Regions from separate parts of the Homo sapiens genome. Here region 2 is linked to region 1. Evidence: promoter capture Hi-C in 16 types of primary human blood cells and fetal thymus (Javierre and others, 2016). All regions are on one chromosome and are shown on one strand. Each heading gives the region's core, a stretch centred on a gene start or on the middle of the fragment in contact. The rest is flanking DNA. Distances are from core to core; before and after follow the strand shown.

Region 1 (3,071 bases), core at 532-3,031:
AAGACAAATCTAATCTGTAGTTACAGAAAACAGCTAAGCGGGCCAAATATGAGGTGGGATAGAAGTTGACTTTAAAGGGGTGCAAGACAACCCTCTGAGGTGATGGAATTGTTCATTATCTTGATTGAAGCAGTGGTTACATGGGTGTGTACATTATTCAAAACTCATGAAGCTGTATAATTAATATGAGTGTAATATATGGAATGTAACTTATCCCCCAATAAAGTTGATTAAAAAATTAAAAGGAAAGTGGGGCAACCAAGTTTCATAAAGCAAAATATCTTTGGGTAATAAGTGGCATGAACTAACAGCCAATTTCCTTAGAAAACAGCCATATGGATTAATCACCTCTAGAATTATTTGTGCCTGTGCTGCCCAGATCAAAGTTCCAACTCCTGGCAGAGAGGGCCTGAGGGGCTTAGCTGAGGTCAGTTGCTCTCTTCTGGACAGGGAAAAGCTGGACCATCCTGACTGACCTTCCACCCAGACTGCTGTCCTTGTGGCAGGGATGGTATCTCAAAGAAAAATGGAGGTACTGTTACCAGAGAAGGGGCAATGATGACTGCTAAACAAACAAATAAACAAACACCAAAACAGTCTTCCCCTGTGTATTTCCAGGGAGAGTAAAGAGGATGGTGAGGGGCTTCAAACATATCTATGTTCATTCATTCCATTCATTTATTCACTCAAACATAATATGGAGTCTGTACTATTTTCCAGGAGCGTTATTGAGTAGGGACTCGAACGCTCTTGAAGTCTCTCTAAAAAGAAAGAGTTCTTATTAATGGGAGGAAGAGAAGCCTGGTAGGAGATGGTTACCTGGAGTGGTTATGGGGCTTAAACCTGTTTTTGTTTTTTTGTGGGGAGAGGGGGATAGAATTCAACGACACAAGAAAGAACTTTGCAGCAGTCAAATTTGTATCTTTTGGGGTCCTGTAAAAGCTGGAAAACTCTTTAGTCTGGAAGAGGAAGATGGACAGTCAGAGAAGCAGATTCCAGAATTCATGTCCTGTCTAACCCACAAATGGAAAAGCCCGTTCATGGTTTTAACATTCCATCACTGGGCCTCCCGGGGCCTCCTCGGCGAGTCGGCAGAGGGAGCCATTCCCCAATAAATTGCCGCGCGAGGCCTCCGAGGACCTGGGGGGATTTTCCTGCGCGTCCGGGGAGTTCTCTCTCCGCCCCTCCATGGTAAAGCAGACTATCCCACCCTCCACCCTCTGCCTTCACCTCCCCGCCCCACCTTTCCATGTACTTTGCTGCCACATCACATTCTCTGGCACGGCTTAATCACCATCCTTTCTGGGTCCCACCTTTGCGCTTTCTCCCCTGACACCACTGAGGACCCGCCGTCCACTCCAGTTGGCCGCTCGGGCGCCGGCCACCGTCCCACAAATCCTTACAGAGGGTCTAGAACACCTCCCAGGGACTCTGCCGAGGGACTTGCACCCAACGTGGGTTGGGAATCAGGCGGGCACCCACTCTGACACCCCTTCGGTCACCCCCTGCGGTGACCCCAACATTTGCTAACTTCGCGACCAGGCCTTTGGCGGGGTCACCCACCAGGCGGTGGAAGCCGCTCAGGCAGGGGCGACTCACGATCGAGGTGCAGCAGTCAGGCCGGGAAGATCCTGCATGTTGCGCTAGGGACTGCGCGCGGCGCCAAGCGACAACCCCCCAGCGGCCACTGCCCCGGCAGCAGCAGCTGCAGCAGCGGCAACTGCTCGAATCCCGGCCCCGGCTCGGGTTACCCGCCCCCACCCCCTCCAGCATCTCGGGCCAGACAGAGAAAACCTTGTTCAAGTTTGCAGCAAGTACTTTCCCGGTGCGCAAAACTGGGCGACTGGGAACGCGTTGAGACGTTCCTCTTTCCCGCTTCTCCACCTTTACGCCTGAAAGAAGACTCCCAAAGATTGCTTTCTTCTGGGACGCTGCTTGGACGCTAACCGCGTTGATTGGAACAGATTTTGTGTCTTGGCTGGCTTTGGGTGAAGACCGGGGAGAAAAGGTTGCGCTGCGATTCTCAAGATCTCTGGACCTGGGTAAGAGTTGGGCAAACTCAACTCCGGCGGCTCCTGGACCTTGGCCGGACGCCGGAAGGCTTCTCATGGGCGGGGGTCACATTTTCCTTAGCCAGGGTACCGGGGTGCGGCGTGAGGTGGGGCGAGATGGGCTCAGTCTGCGTTGTTCATGCGCTTCTTAAGGGTTTATTGTTGTTTGCATTTGGTTTTGTTACATGGGATTGTGTAGGAAAATCCTGGAGTATTTTTGATGGAGAGACATCCTCATTACGCATTTTATTTTGCATAATTCCTGCCCTTGTATTGCCTTACCTTGTGTTTGTTTCATTTTGCCGGGCGATATAGCTGGATGTAGGGAGATTTGTGGGGAATCGGACTGAGCTTGAAAGGCAGTTTCAGCTGGGCCCTTTCTTCTAGGTCAGTTGAACTTCCTTTCTGGGATCTTCACTGTTTTCTAAACTTCTCTTTCTCCCGTCCTTGGTATTCAGATTGTGCAGATAACGCTCTAGGCTGGCGGGATGCTCCCCTTTCCTGAGTTCTCAGCGATCAGTAGGGGTGTGAGGTCGCAGTCTTAGACCAAAGGGGCCTTGTCAGTATGCTTGGCTCCTTAAGGAGTGCTGGGAGGGACGGTTTTTCAAGTGATAGTTACTTAAGAAAGATAAATCCGGTGTTGATCTTTTTCTTTTAAATTCCTTGTTAGAGGACTTTTACGCCTGGTTTAAGGAAGTGTTTTGGCCTTAATTTTCTTTCTGGAAGTATTTTTCTTAGTGACACCACTGAGCAAATGAATGATGGCAATATCTTTGCTGCTTCTTTAGAAAATATCCTCACGCAAGGACCCACATTATTTAGGAGAAAGTCAAAGTTGGAGATCTTATTAGCCAAAATTAGCCATTATTATTGTTCTTAGGCTGTGATAACCATGCTGTGCCAAGGCAGAAGAGAATGACATTTCTTCTTGTTCTTCTTGCCTTACTCCTTTATATCCTGGGTCTCACTTTGTGTATAGGGTTCCCAAATAAAAATGCTTCATTCCTTATGGACAGAAAT
Region 2 (2,932 bases), core at 273-2,772, 230 kb after region 1:
AGAGGATGAAGATGGTTATCTGTCTTTAGCACCACCCCAAACAGCACGATCCGGACAGTAACCTGGATCTCCACCTACACACATTCTTAGAGGATAGGAGCCACCGCCAAAGAAAACCGCCCATGGTAGTTGCACAGTGAGATCTGAAGTCAGAGTATTGCTACATAGTATTAACTTTTCAGTGAGGTATTTTGGAATGCTTACAACTGTGAAGCTCAAGAGATAGATTAATGTGAAATCTCTAAGTGAGTTCCTGAAAAAAAATTGAGAACAACAAAAACAATTTTTTATATATTTAATGCTAAGCAATTTAAAAAATGTTTTCGGACAGGTGCGGTGGCTCACGCCTGTAATCCCAGCACTTTAGGAGGCCGAGGCGGGCCGAGGTCAGGAGTTCGAGACCAGCCTGGCCAAAATGGTGAAACCCTGTCTCTACTAAAAGTACAAAAATTAGCTGGGTGTGGTGGCCTGTGCCTGTAATCCCAGCTACTCGGGAGGCTGAGGCAGGAGAATCGTTTGAACCCGGGAGGCAGAGGTTGCAGTGAGCCGAGATGGCGCCATTGCACTCCAGCCTGGGCAACAGGGCAAGACACCATCTCAAAAAGACAAAAAGTTTAAAAAATTTTCATATGCTCTATTTTATTTGAGTCTGTCACCTGCCTGATTTAGGGATGGTGGATAGTATTATTCTCAGTTTGCAGGTAGAAATATGAAGACTTATGGAGACTAAGTGACCTGTACAAGGGCAGGCAACTGTACAACTGGCATTAGAGTAGTCTCAGACTCAAATCAAGACTTCTGATTTGAAGTTCCTTATTTTCCTCTATCGCACTCCATTAATTTATTTAATGTACATTATTGAACACCAACTATTTCAGGTACTGTGTTAGGTGCAGCATATAATAAGAAAGTTGATAATCTGTCTATTTTACAATTAAAAAAAGAATGTGCAATACATGCACTTGGGGAAAAATTCAGTACAGTAACTGCTACTCTTCTCCCCTCTCCCTCTTCTCCTAATCCCTCTCTCCTGATATAATCACTGTTATCTGGAAATCTTTGACTATACAGGCTAAGTCCCCTGTATCTGCCGCGAGGTCCTTCCTGGAGGTGCTGACTGGACTAGCTGATGTTGGCTAGATGACCGCCAACCAGATGACCTTGGCTAACTGATCTTATCCCTTGGGCCGCTGTGGCACAGGATGAGTGAGCTACGCCTGGTAACAAGAGTGCCACTCTCGTGTAAGGGGGCTGCGAAGTAGAAAGGAGGCCAGCCCTTTGGAAGATGTTTCTAGAGGGTGTGGGCAGAACCAAGTCTCGGTAGTTAGGAAGATCTTGGCTCCAAAGTTTAACTTGCAGCGTCCCGGCCGGGTTCACAGCGCATGGGACAGGGGGGGCGGGGCGATGCGGAGGCGGAGCGGGGCGATGCGATGCGGGGCGGAGCGGGGCGGGGCGGCGACGCGCGGCGCGGTGCGGCGCGCGGCCGACGTGGCAGCCGCAGGAGCATGCGCCGCCCGTGGCCATCTTGTAGGCGGGGACACGCCGAGGTAACTTCCAGGGTGCGCCTTCGTTGTCTTCTCCAAGCTGTAGTTCTACGTCCCGACCTCCCTATCATACCACACTCTTCAGCGACCACGCAGGCACTTTCCCGGTCCCCAGGTGAGCGCCAGGTGGCTCCGAGGGGCGTGTATGAGGGGGGTGGCATGGCATGGCATGGCTTGCAGGCGCCAGAGCCAGACCCCGAGGGACGGTGTCCCTGGAAGGTGGGCGGGCCGGCCGGCGCCACTGGACGCCGATGTCGTTTGCGAGCCCCCTAGTCCCGTGGTCCAGGCTCAGCTGTGGCGGCGTGCGGGGTGCAGCAGGCAGGAGTGCACATCGCAAGGTGAGCAGTTTCCGCTGGGGATGGCACGGTGGGCGCGGTTCGAGGGTCTCGCCCCGCGACACTTTGCTCCTGTCCAAGGACCAAGGCAGGAGCGCTCTGGCCCCACCTTCCAGGGCGCTGACTTTAGGGGAGACTGGCGGGAGCGCCGGCGGACCTTAGCCCGGCCCTGTCTGGCCTGGAGACGTGGCAGAGCCTGAGGGGAAGCCGCTGTCTCCTGAAACAGGATTTCGGCCGCTCTGGCCCTGGAGAGGCCCAGGAGGCTCGAGAGTCATCACACCAGGACCTGCAATGAAAGGAAGCTTATTTTCCCTGAGGTTACCCCATCGGTGCTTAGCGCCGCTTGGGAGAGTTTTTGCATTCTCTCGTTTCTTTGTTTGGTCTTGGGACCTGCTTCAGGCAAATTTGCAGATAGCACGTTTCCTAGATTGACAGAATTTATAGCCAATAGTGTTTTTGTCATTCGAAGTAGTTATTTTGAGAGACAACATGTGCATTTCTGCGATCGTGACACATCTTGGCATTCAGTCTTTCTCCTGTGCAGCCAGTGTTTAATTCAGTGAAAATTTATAAAATTTTATTTCGGGGTCAGATTAGGCTCTAACTAGCGCTCACTGTTTGGTAGTAGAGACAATCTTGTGGCACGAGTAGGTCAGCAATAATTGCTCTTAATGCTTTAAAGTTTATCAGAGCTTCACTCTTCCATTTCTTGTAAACTTGTAAATAGACATCCACTTTTTTTTTTTTTTTTTAACAGAAAAACCAAGGCACAAGCAAATTGGAACAACAGGGTCTAGCCGGACTGAGAACTCAGTTTTCCAAACCATTTTCTTCACTTTTTCTTTAGTGTTGATATATGAATAGTACTTTTCGTGACAAGACTTGAGCCCTAAAACAGTTACCAACTCTGACACTTCAGTATTGTTTTATCATAATAGGTTTTTTTAGTAGAAGGCACTATGTTTATGCATGTAAAATTTACCTCAGTATTGCCATTACGGCAGTTTTCATATAAAAAGCCATTAAAGACAAAGAAATTGATTATTTATTCCA

The links. The method cuts DNA at HindIII sites, captures the fragments that hold promoters and counts their contacts. A CHiCAGO score of 5 or more calls a contact.
Region 2: a contact is called between the fragment with the promoter of PRRC1 here and the fragment with the promoter of MEGF10 in region 1, in 5 of 17 cell types (megakaryocytes, endothelial precursors, erythroblasts and 2 more). The highest score is 10.2, in megakaryocytes.

Annotation. Positions count from the first base shown.
Region 1 is chr5:127,289,015-127,292,085 of GRCh38, forward strand. MEGF10 (multiple EGF like domains 10) reads left to right here and starts at 1,782. Exons shown (of 25, transcript NM_001256545.2): 1 at 1,782-2,042. It overlaps LOC105379199, which reads right to left and starts at 1,722. Exons shown (of 4, transcript XR_007058921.1): 1 at 1,564-1,722. The HindIII fragment of the contact is 5,574 bases long and covers 1-3,071 here.
Region 2 is chr5:127,516,118-127,519,049 of GRCh38, forward strand. PRRC1 (proline rich coiled-coil 1) reads left to right here and starts at 1,523. Exons shown (of 9, transcript NM_130809.5): 1 at 1,523-1,659. RefSeq lists a silencer at 1,391-1,460 and an enhancer at 1,521-1,700. The HindIII fragment of the contact is 4,735 bases long and covers 1-2,179 here.